4 separate regions of the Homo sapiens genome follow, and all the other regions are linked to region 3. Evidence: promoter capture Hi-C in human tissues and cell types (Jung and others, 2019). All regions are on one chromosome and are shown on one strand. Each heading gives the region's core, a stretch centred on a gene start or on the middle of the fragment in contact. The rest is flanking DNA. Distances are from core to core; before and after follow the strand shown. Region 1 holds the start of C16orf90 (chromosome 16 open reading frame 90). Region 2 holds the start of CCNF (cyclin F). Region 3 holds the start of KREMEN2 (kringle containing transmembrane protein 2). Region 4 holds the start of ABCA3 (ATP binding cassette subfamily A member 3).

The links. Contacts are between HindIII fragments. The study calls those that stand out against the background at their distance.
Region 1: a contact is called between the fragment with the promoter of C16orf90 here and the fragment with the promoter of KREMEN2 in region 3, in 1 of the 25 tissues and cell types used here (spleen).
Region 2: a contact is called between the fragment with the promoter of CCNF here and the fragment with the promoter of KREMEN2 in region 3, in 2 of the 25 tissues and cell types used here (heart left ventricle and lymphoblastoid cells).
Region 4: a contact is called between the fragment with the promoter of ABCA3 here and the fragment with the promoter of KREMEN2 in region 3, in 5 of the 25 tissues and cell types used here (aorta, heart right ventricle, mesenchymal stem cells and 2 more).

Annotation. Positions count from the first base shown.
Region 1 is chr16:3,494,078-3,496,777 of GRCh38, forward strand. It overlaps C16orf90 (chromosome 16 open reading frame 90), which reads right to left and starts at 1,412. Exons shown (of 3, transcript NM_001080524.2): 1 at 1,299-1,412; 2 at 447-800. The coding sequence starts at 1,344. It also overlaps a transcript of CLUAP1 not described here and the pseudogene RPL18P12. The HindIII fragment of the contact is 9,668 bases long and covers 1-2,169 here.
Region 2 is chr16:2,428,170-2,430,869 of GRCh38, forward strand. It overlaps CCNF (cyclin F), which reads left to right and starts at 1,278. Exons shown (of 17, transcript NM_001761.3): 1 at 1,278-1,328. The coding sequence starts at 1,313. RefSeq lists enhancers at 339-918, 354-533 and silencers at 744-1,593, 1,604-1,653. The HindIII fragment of the contact is 14,340 bases long and covers 1-2,700 here.
Region 3 is chr16:2,962,950-2,965,649 of GRCh38, forward strand. KREMEN2 (kringle containing transmembrane protein 2) reads left to right here and starts at 1,326. Exons shown (of 9, transcript NM_172229.3): 1 at 1,326-1,665; 2 at 1,910-2,084. The coding sequence starts at 1,572. RefSeq lists enhancers at 1-558, 45-174, 2,143-2,700 and silencers at 255-334, 365-494, 1,045-1,124, 1,655-1,904, 1,975-2,344. The HindIII fragment of the contact is 31,540 bases long and covers 1-2,700 here.
Region 4 is chr16:2,339,472-2,342,171 of GRCh38, forward strand. ABCA3 (ATP binding cassette subfamily A member 3) reads right to left here and starts at 1,257. Exons shown (of 33, transcript NM_001089.3): 1 at 1,102-1,257. It also overlaps the pseudogene ABCA17P. RefSeq lists silencers at 878-937, 1,108-1,567. The HindIII fragment of the contact is 11,234 bases long and covers 1-2,700 here.

The DNA.
Region 1 (2,700 bases), core at 162-2,661, 530 kb after region 3:
CGATATTCTTGAAAACAGAAGGGAGGAGGGCAATGCTTCCTCCTTAACAGAATCCCCAGGGGAGGGAGGAGGTTGAGGGAACAGAATGGTTCAAGCTGGAAGGACCCTCATCTAACCTGAACCCTCATTTTACAAGTGAGAAAACTGAGGCCCAGCAAGGGAGACAGATTCCAAGGCCCCTCACCGAGTGTGGAGCTGGGGCAGTCACCCAGCCCTCCCTCCCAGATCCTCCCTTTTTCTCGCACCGCTTTGTCCCTGGTGGATTCTCCAGACCCCGCTTAGCTGTGCGTGATGCAGAGATGGGGACAGATTCATCAAGATCTTGGCCTTCTGGGGCATGGTGCCACTGTGGAGGCTTGGGAGTGGAGAAGGGCCCGCCTGAGGCCCCAGCCCAACCATCCCCTAGGGTCTTCCCCCGTGCCCAGTCCTGCCTTGACAGAGCTCACCACTGCTTCCCAGGCTGTCCCTGGGCAATCGGGCTTCCAGAAGGGCTGAACAGAGGCTGTTACGTGGGCCCAGAGTCCCCTGTGGCAGGTCCAGGGCCCAGGCTGTGCCCTCAGGCTGTGGCAGGCAGCCCCCAGCCATAAGCCGGCCCAGCCAGTGGCTCTCACACTGGCCAGTGGGTGGCGGGTGGCTCTCCAGGTAGAGGCCCAGGCCCCGGAGGTGGCGCAGCCGGAAGTTCTTGGGCTTGCTTCCCTGGGCACTGGGGCACTGCGGCTGCGGGGACCCCAGGCCCCCCTCGTAGATGTTGGGGGGTGCGTCAGGGTGGCCGGGGCGTCCTTGGGCCTGGCTCACTGCATCTGCAGAGGAGACAGCGGGAGGGTGGTGGCCAGCCCCCCACAGCAGCCATGAGGGGAGGGTGCAGTCACATACCTCTGAGACCAGCTCACATGATGGGCTACACCCCCAGCCAACCTGGCCTCAGTTTACCTGTGTGTCAAATAGTCTCAGTCCACTGCCTCCCCTGCCCATGCCCAAGACACGACTCCTCTTCCCACTCCCAACCAACAGGGAGGCCTGGGAAGCCTCGGGCCTTGGTACTAAGAGTGCTTTCAGGACCTCAAGTCCTTTCTACTACCCTGTTCTGCCCGCTACCCTAGGAAGAGTATTCTGGTCCCCACAGAGAAATTGCACAGTGGGTTTGAGAGAAAGTGGCCAGCCCAGGGGCTCATGGCCTGGCCCAGTGGCCATTCCCCTCTCCCAAGCATACATGTCCCTGAGGCCACCCCTCGGCTTTGGGCCCAGGTGGGGACAGAAGCCTATCTCTCTTCCTGCCACTCCTCCCCACAGCCCGGCACCTTCTCTTATGTGCAGCTCAGAAAATGCACAGACCAAGGCTTCCATGGAGGGCCAGTGTGGTGGGGAGGAGCAACCAGGACTTGGGTGCAGCAGGGCCCTGCTCTCCCCTGCCTAGGGGGTACATTGGCAGGTCTCCCCTGGCAACTGGTTCTTATGACATCACGGGGAAGACTCCCAGCCTTCCTGGACCCCTAGTTTGGGAGAGGACAGTGCCCAAGGCAAGGGCAGGGTGAAAGAAAGGCATGGGAAGGGGCCAGAACCCTGGGGGAAGTCCCTGGTCCCTCTGGCTGGGGTCAGGCCACATAAAACAGACAGCTCTGGCAAACTGGAGAGTCCTTCTCTCAGGTGATCTCTTGGGGCCAGCTTCCTCATCTGGGGTGGGAAATGAGGGTTCAGGAGTACAGACCTAGGAAGACCTAGGTCGGTACTTTGAAAATGCTGAAAAGGGGCTGGGGGCGGTGGCTCATGCCTGTAATCCCAGCACTGTGGGAGGCCGAGGCAGGCTGATCAGTTGAGGTCTGTGGGAGGCCGGGGTGGGCGGATCATGAGGTCAGGAGATCGAGACCATCCTGGCTAACACGGTGAAACCCCGTCTCTACTAAAAATACAAAAAAATTAGCCGGGCGTCGTGGCGGGAGCCTGTAGTCCCAGTTACTCAGGAGGCTGAGGCAGGAGAATGGCGTGAACCCGGGAGGCGAAGCTTGCAGTGAGCCCAGATCGCGCCACTGCACTCCAGCCTGGGCTGCAGAGCGAGACTCCGTCTCAAAAAAAAAAAAAAGTTAAACATTCATCTTTCCGGACCTGGCCAAGCAGGAAGCGCCATCATGGGAGCTGACGTCCGCCACAAGAAGGACCTAAAGGTTCGGCGCAAAGAGCCCAAGAGCCAGGATATCTAACTGAGGCTGTTTGTTGGTCAAGCTGTACAGGTTACCGTCCAGACGAACTAACTCCACATTCAACCAGGTTGTGCTGAAGAGGTTGTTTATGAGTCGCACCAACCGGCCACCTCTGTCCGTTTCCCGGATGATCCGGAAGATGAAGCTTCCTGGCTGGGAAAACAAAACGGCCGTGGTTGTGGGGACGCTTAACGGATGACGCGAGGGTTCAGGAGGTGCCCAAACTTAAGGTGTGTGCGCTGCCCGTGACCAGCCGGCCCACAGCGGCATCCTCAGGGTGGGGGCCAAGATCCTGACTTTCGATCAGCTGGCCCTGGACTCCCTCAAGGACGGCGGCCCCGTCCTACTCTCCGGTCTTCGCAAGGGCCGACAGGTGTACCGGCATTTCGGCAAGGCCCTGGGAACCCCACACAGCCACACCAAACGCTATTTCCGCTCCAGGGACCAGAAGTTCGAGCGCGCCAGAGGCCTACGGGCCAGCCGAGGCTACAAAAACGAACCCTCT
Region 2 (2,700 bases), core at 28-2,527, 530 kb before region 3:
TCCGGGACAGGGAATATTCCCAACTTCCAGACCCTCTCTGGGGCCACGGACTCTTCTGTACCCTGTGCTGTGATCACCTGTTTACTCTGTCTCTTGCCCCAGGCCGGCTGAAGCCTGCACGCCAGGGCTCCTGTCTGTGTGCCCAGGGCAGGCCCAGTACTTGAAGGAGTTCTATGGGGACCCGGAAGGATGGAAGGGTGCAGACTGAGGGAAGCGTGAGGGAGGGGTGGGCAGCCTTGGCCCAGGCCCCTGCCTTCCCCAGGAAAAGCCCCCTCTGTCCTCCACCAGACAGTCAGGAGGCTGCGAGTCTTCCCCTTGACAGCCTGTGCCGTAAAAGGGGTGCGGTGTGGCTGACTCCTGAAGGACAGCTCAGATGGGCACTGCCCAAGACAAGAGTGAGCAGATACGACACTTCCCGCGGCGAGCAGCTCCAGGTAGCAGCCGAGGAGGCCAGACAGGGGGCAGCATCTGGCCAAAGTGATGGGGAGGGCTTGCCCCGGGGCTGGAGCACTGAGGCGTCCAGGGTGCGCCACGTTTCGCGGGAAGAAGGGGTCAGCGTTCCGCGGGGGAGACTTCCCAGCGTCAGCTCCGACCTCCTCTTTCTCTACCACGATCCCGGCCAGCATCCCCGCCCAGCAGCGGCTCAGCCACAAACCCAAGGGTCTCCACCTGAAGCAGGCGGCGGAAGGGAAGGCCGTGCAAGCTGGGGGTGAGGGTCGCGGGCCCAGGAGCGACCCCGGGACCCGGGCAGGGCACGGCCTCGTCTTAGAAGCGCCACGTCGAGGCTGTCCCAGGCTGGATCACGGCCGCGACTGCGAGGGACGCCAAGGAGTCCTCTTTCCCCTGGCCGCAGGCGTGCGCCTTCGCAGCCCATCTGGCACCGCAGATGCCGGTCGCCGGGGTCAGCGGCGAAGCCCGAACCCATGCGGCCGGGAGGGGACGCCCACAAACCCCTGCCCGCCGGCCGGGAAGCGCTCCTACGGGACCCCAGCCCCGTTGGGGAGGCGGGGCGGCCACGCGGGTTCCACCAATCAGCGGCCAATGTTCGAATTCGCGTCCTGGCGCGGCCAATGGCGGGTCCCGGAGCAGGCGGGGAGGGCGTGGAGGGCGGTAAATGAGGCGAGCACAGGGCGGGACATGGGCGGGGCCGGCGGCGGCCCCCCCGGGCAGGCCAATGGGAGGGCCGGGTGCGTTTGAAAACTGGGGTGGGCGGCGGGGCGGGGTCTGCGCCTGCGCGAGGGCTACGCGCGCTCCGGCCGGGGCGCGGGCGCGCTCTCAGGCGGGCTCCGGCGGCAGCGACGCGAGCGCGGCGATGGGGAGCGGCGGCGGTGAGTGCGGGGCGATGTCCGCTGGTTTCTGCCCCACACCCCTTCTGCCTGCCCTGCGGGGCGGACGGTGGGTCCCGCGGGAGGGGAGGCCCTGGCGGCCTGAAGAGGGCTGGCTCGAGCTCTTTAACCCGGGGCGGATGTCGCGTCCCGCGCAGGGAGCCCCGGCGGCCGGGCGCGCGGTTTAAATGCCCGGCGGGCGCCCGAGCCCCTCGGAGCCTTCCCCCGCGGCGACGTTTTCCGGCCCTTTCCTGGGGCAACGATCGGGTCCCGGGGCAGCGATCCGGCGATCGGGTCCCGGGGCGGCGATCGGGTCTCGGGGAGCCAAACACCAGCGCCTCCTGGTCGGGGAAAGGGCTGCGGAGCGCGTGGGGGCGAAGCGATCCCGCAGCCCGGCCGGGCCCTGACCGAGCCTCAGTCCAGCGGGGCCGTGGACCTAGCTCTGTGGAAAGCAGCGTTCGGCCCCGCGCGCGTTGAGGCACAGGAAACACGAACTGTGGTTTCAGCTATTATCATAGTATCTGTCCTGGAGCCGGAGAATGAGGAATATTTTATGGAGAGGTCTATAGAATCTTTGAGAATTCGTCGCCCTGGAATACGTTTGGCTTTTGCAGCTGATTTAATTGCTAACAGGAAGACCCCGGTCAAGAGAGGGGAGCCGGGAGCAATCGCTAGGAAGTCCTAGCAAGGCGGGGAGGGATTTGGGCCCACAGAGGGGAGTGGCGCTTCCTTTCAGGACTGGAAGGAAGGATGGATAGAAAGGTAGATTTGTAGATGGGGAGGCAGGATCCTGAGGTTCCTGTCTGAGGGCTTCTGTTTCCCTGTGAAATAAGGGCTAAGGTCATCTGCTTAGAGTGAGGAAGGGGTTGCTGGAGTAGGAGTTGGAAAATCCGGCTGTGGGAAGAGGAGAGAGCACATCTGAGAAGCATGTCCGGGCTGCCTGCCTGGTGGGTGGAATGCCCGTCTCACCTTTAATGATTGCATCTGTACACAAACCTACAGGTCTAGGTTTGTGTTGGGACCTGAGCAACAACCTTACTGCGTAGCTGTCAACTCCGCATTCTACAATAGAGGGCACACTGAGACTCTGCAGAGCTGAGACTTGGACGCACACTGCCCCGGCCTCCAAGTCTGTGGCTTCTCTCCAGGGCCGACCCTTCTAATTTGGACTTGAAAACCAGACTCTTCAAGCCCACAGATCTTTATTGAACATTATGCACCTTGGTCACGTGTGCAAAAAGCAAAGCTATCCAGCAAAGGCCCCAGGAGTTTTCCTGAGAGTGAAATAGAAGGAAAACCGTCCTCAGCTTCGGCAGCTTTTTCCCCTTCCTGCCTGTCATGTGGGCTCTGGATCAGAAAGTTTCCCAATAGCCAA
Region 3 (2,700 bases), core at 76-2,575:
GGAGGAGGCGACCAGGACCCTGGCCTAGAGTCTCAGCAAGTCCATCTCCTTCAAATGCCCCCACCTCGGCTCCACGCCCCTCCTCCAGAGCACACTCGCGTGAGGCGCCAGCTGGAAGATCCTCGCGGGTCCCAGCACCGCAGTGGGTGCCTGGGCCTGACAGAACCTCCCTGAACCCCATCTTTCTTCTCCATCGACACCGGGGCAGAGACGGTGTGGGGGCTGCAGGGCGGGGACTGGTCGGCCTGGGCTCGACAGCTTGGCGAGGGCCTGGTGCGGGCTGGGCAGGCTGGACTGAGGGGCAAAGAGGTCTGGGCGGGGCGGGGCCGCTCTGGGCGCCCGGCCCCCACCAGTTCCTTCCCCCGGCCCCCGCCTCCGCCCTCCCACGCACCTGCGCTGGCCTCCCCCCAAGCCCTGGGGGCAGCGGGCGGGTGGCGCTGGGAGATCAGAGGACTCGGAGGAGTCGGGCCCAGGGGGAGGGGGCGGGGAATTTCCCCCCACGCCTGCCTGGGCCTGCTCCCCTCCCCCTCCCCCGCCAGGTGGGGGGCACGGCTGGGGGAATTCCACTGCAGTGTGAAGGCTCGGGAGAGTCTGGGCTGGGGGTCCCAGGGAAGGGCGGGGCAGGGGGAGGAGGAGGGGACAGACTGGGACCTGGGGCGCAGCTGCCTTTCTCCCCAGACACCAGCTGCCCCTGCCTGTCCCGGACTGAGCGTCCACGACTCCCGCCTGTCTCGTGGGCGCGGGGGCAGGGAGTGGAGCTTCCTCCGTCAGGCCAGCGGCATCTGGACCAGGGGCGGGAGGGGCGTGCGGATCCGAAGAAAGTGTGCGCGTGAGCGCCTGGCAATGAATGGGAGAGAGTGCGAGCGCGTGCGTGCACTGGGAGGAGGGCGCTTGTAACTCGGACATTCCGGGTGTCCTGGGGCGCGTGCGACCACGTGAGGGGGTTCTGTATCTCCCATTTTAAGGGCCTTCCGTCCGCTTGCCCCGCCTGTCCCCCTCCACACCTTCCCACTTGAACCGGCACCGACCTGAGGGAGAGGGGGCCGGGAAGCGCTGGACGCCCGGGGTCGGGGGAACGGGCGTGGGAGGCGTCTGGACCTGCTGCCTCCGCTCCAGTGCTGGGCGGGGCTTCCCGGCCTCCCATGGGGGGAGGGAGAGACCCAGGGGGAGGGACCCACGGAGGGATGCGAGGCGGGCAGGAGTCAGCCCGTTGGAGACCTGGGCGAGGGAGACGCCGAGAGCTAGGCTCAGTGGGAGGGGGCGGGCGTAGAGGCTGAGGCACCGCCCAGAGCTCGCTGAGACAGAGACTGAGAACGCCCCCGGCCAGATTCCCCCCGGAGAGACCCGGGTAGGGACAGGGACAGAGAGACGCCTCTAGGGGCAGAGGCCCTGGGAGGCAAAGACCCCCAGGAGAGATTTACCCACCCCAGACGGAAAGCGCGGCTCAGAGTCGGACGAGGGGAGACTGTCAGAGGACAACGCCCCCTAGGTCTCCTGGGAGACCCCGAAGCGACCCCGGGGGCAGCCCGGGCCGTGTCCGGGCGAGGGTGACCTATCCTTGGTTGAGAGCGATGGGGACACAAGCCCTGCAGGGCTTCCTCTTTCTCCTCTTCCTCCCGCTGCTGCAGCCGCGTGGGGCCTCGGCTGGGAGCCTGCACAGTCCAGGTAAGTCCCCGCACGGCTGTCGGGCCGTGTTCACCACCCCTTCCTCGGCCTCCGCCCCCAGGGCCAGGCCCCCAAGGCTAGGGAGGGGGACAGAGCAGGTGGCCGGAGCAGCTGAGCAGCCCGAGGGCTCCTGCAGGGGCGGGTGCGGGGTCGCTGGCTGGGGACCCAGGCGGGAGGTGGCGTAGGGGCGCGAGGATGCCCGGCGTGGGTCCGGACCTCCCCAGGCCCTGCCTTTGCCGTGCAGGCCTGTCCGAATGCTTCCAGGTGAATGGGGCTGACTACCGCGGCCACCAGAACCGCACTGGCCCGCGCGGGGCGGGCCGCCCGTGCCTCTTCTGGGACCAGACGCAGCAACACAGCTACAGCAGCGCCAGCGACCCCCACGGCCGCTGGGGGCTGGGCGCGCACAACTTCTGCCGGTGAGGGGCGGGGCCTGCGCTGGGGGCGAGGCTGGGCTCACCATTGCAGGGATGGCCCGAAGCGGGGCCTCCGTGCGGGCGGGGTGGAGGTCTGCCGTGGACTGGCAGCCCAGCCTCCTGGAGAACCTGGGGGCGGGGCCAGAATGAGGGGCGGGGCGGGGCGGGGCGGGGCGCGCGGAACCCTGGCGCAAAAGGGATCCTCCTCAGGTGAACAATTTCTGCAGAGCTCCAGTTCAGGGCCAGGAGAGAAACGGACCTGGGCACTCAAAGGACCCGTATGGGCGGGGCCTGGTCAGAGCGGGGGCCGAATGGGCGGGGCCTTGTCAGAGTGGGGCTCTTGTCATACAACTTATTTTGGGGTTCAGAGCCACAGCTACGGTCTGAGGCAGGATGGACCCAGCGGGAGGAGAGCCGCAAAGCTCAGGAGCTCACTTCTGCTTTTAAGTGGGGTTGGAGGCCAGGCGCGGTGGCTCAGCCTGTAATCCCAGCACTTTGGGAGGCCAAGGCAGGCGGATCATCTGAGGTCAGGAGTTCGAGACCAGCCTGGCTACCATGGTGAAACCCCATTTCTACTAAAAATACAAAAAATTAGCGGGGCATGGTGGCGGGCGCCTGT
Region 4 (2,700 bases), core at 7-2,506, 620 kb before region 3:
TTTCCCTTTCTCTTACATTTCTCATGAGGCAAACTTTCTAAAACAGTCTTAGTCTTTTCAAGTTTACAAAAGGCAGCGCCCAGACTATCTGAATAAAATGACGGGATGCCCAGGAGAAGAGTGAACCTCTCCCACGTGCTCCCTGCCTGGGCTCCATGCTGTCGCGGGGTCTCGGCTACTCACTCAGCGGGCATTTCTGGAGTTCCAGGAACACAAACCCCAACAAGATCCAATCGACGCCTTCCCGGAGTGCACAGTCCAGGACGTAACCCGGAGAACAAGCGGCAATTACCCCCTGAGGACATGGCTTCATCTGTGCGACAGACACCAAGCGCCTTCCCCACGCCCCTGACCATAAGGCCGTCCCGGCCCTTCTGAAGCGTGGAGCCGGCTTGGAACAGAGCCAAGACACACGGACGCGATGCACACAGGCGTCCTGACCGAGGGCGCCGAGAACGCGGCCTCCGGCGACTGCCACAAGCCCCTCCGCCTGGACTAGCGGCTCCCCTTTCCCGTTCCCACACAGTGGAGGGCGCAGCAAACGCCCGCCGCGGACCGTGGGCCTTGGATTCGGATTTGGAGGCTCCTCGGAACCAGAGGGTGGGAGCAGGCGGAATCCAACCCGGGCGGCTTTGCCACCGCGCGCCCGGCATCCCTGCGGCCGGAAAGCGGCGCCATCTCCGCAAGTGCGCGGCGGACGCCTGCATCCCTCGGGGCCGGGGCTGTCGGTCGCTACATATCCACCTTCTGGGCGCACACAGAGGGCCCGGGCCGTGCCGAGTCTCCGCAGGGTCGAGCTTCCCCGCGCGGCGCGGGCTCAGGCACTGCCCGCAGTGCGGGACACGCCCAAGGCTCGGATGGGAGCCGACGCTGAGGGAGCGGCACCTGCAGGGAGCGCCCGGAGCCGAGGCCGCGGCAGGAGGGGCGGGCGCGGGCGCGGCCGGAGGGGATGCGGGGTCGCGGGAGGGGCCCGCAGGCCAGGCCGGAGCTGGGGGGGGCCCGAGGCCCGAGCTGGCCGGCGAGGGTGGGAAGGGCGGACCCGGGTGGGGACCGCAAGCCCCGGGAACGAGCGCGCGAGCGGCGGGTCCCGGCGGCACTCACCGAGCCTGGGCGCCGGGGCGGCGGCGGCCGGCGCGCGGCCCTCTCGCGGGGTCCCCTCCCTCGGCCACCCGGGCTCCGCTCCAGCCTCGCAGTGGCGGCGGCACTGACAGCTGCGTGGCCGCCCTGGAGGGGAGGGTGCGCCTGCAACCCGCTACTGGCGGACGCAGCGGCCGCTCCGGCTCCTGCAGGGGGCGCCGCGGATGGCGCGTGCGCAGTCGGCCGCCCCTGCAGGTGCCCGGTCCACCCCCGGCCGCCTCGGCCGCTCCGGCCAGCCCAACCCCGCGCCTGCGCGGTGCCCCCTGCATGTCGCCCATGCCCGGCAGAGGGCGCTCTGACTTGCGCGTGCGCAGTCAGCCACCCTGCGAGTACGCGGTTCGCACCCGGCCGCGCGGCAGCCCGTGCTTGCGCACTGCTCTGTGCCCGCGCCTATGTCCAGCAGGGGGCGCGCAGCGGCGGTAGCCGAGCGAGGGCGCGGTGGCCTCTGACAGGAATGACTCTGCGCACGTGCGTTTCGCAGCAGTGGAAGTCTTCACACCCGGAAACTCGACTTTGGCCGTTTCTCCATTTCTCCTCACGCACTGTCTTTCCTTGGGCCCTCGTCACTCCTGGCACCGGGGGAAGGGCTTCCCCGCCTCTGGCCGGGCGCTGGGGCGCGACCGAAGGCGAGGCGGCGGCGAGGAACCTTCTGGAATTCGGCCGTCGGGGCAGGCGTCGAGTTTACAGGAGAAGGCGCGGTGTCCCGGGATGAGCGGAGTCGCCCTCACTTAAGGAGCGAGGGAGGCCTCGGGGGTCCCCAGCCGGGTAGGAGTCACCTCAGGCAGGAGGGCCCGGCCTTGTCGGGGTCACCTGGCGGGAGGGTCCCGGGGTGGGGCGGGGCCGCCTGTGAGGAGGGTCCAGAGAGGGTCGGGGTCACCTGAGGGGAGGGTGGGGGGGTTCGGGGATGGTTGGGGTCACCCGACGGGATGGTCCGGGGAGGGTCGGGTTCACCTGAGGGGAGGGTCGGGGAGGGTCCGGAGAGGGTCGGGGTCACCTGAGGAGGTGGTCCGGAGAGGGTCGGGGTCACCTCACGGAGCGAGCGGAACGGGGTCACCTGGAGGGAGTGTCCAGGGCGGGGGCCCTGCAGGGAGTCGCCTGCAGGGAGGGTCCCGGGCGTGTCACATTAGGCGGTCCCAGGGACGGGTCGCGGTCTAACGGGACGGGAGTGGGGAGGTGGGTCGGGGTGTCCCTGGGCCGGACCGGGTCGTGGGACTGGGTCGCCCCAGGCAGGAGAGCCTGGGAGGGGCGGGCCCCCTTGGCGTGGCAGGGAGAGGTGGAGTGAGGGACTCCCGGGCTCCAGCATGAGGGCGGGCGCCGCGCGGGGCCGACAGTTGCCGCGGGCCGGGGCCAATGGGTCCCCGAGCGCCGCCAGCGGCCGGACCACAGTGAGGTGCGTCCGTGGTCCCGGCGCCCCGGGTGAGGGAGGGCTGCTGCCGGTCCTGCCGCTGGGAGCCGCCTGCGACCCGCACCGCCAGCCCCGCGCCCAGCCAGCCGCCGGCACCACGACCCGACGGCCCCGACCTAATGCAACGCCCCGGGCCGGGGGCGGAAATCGCCCACCCC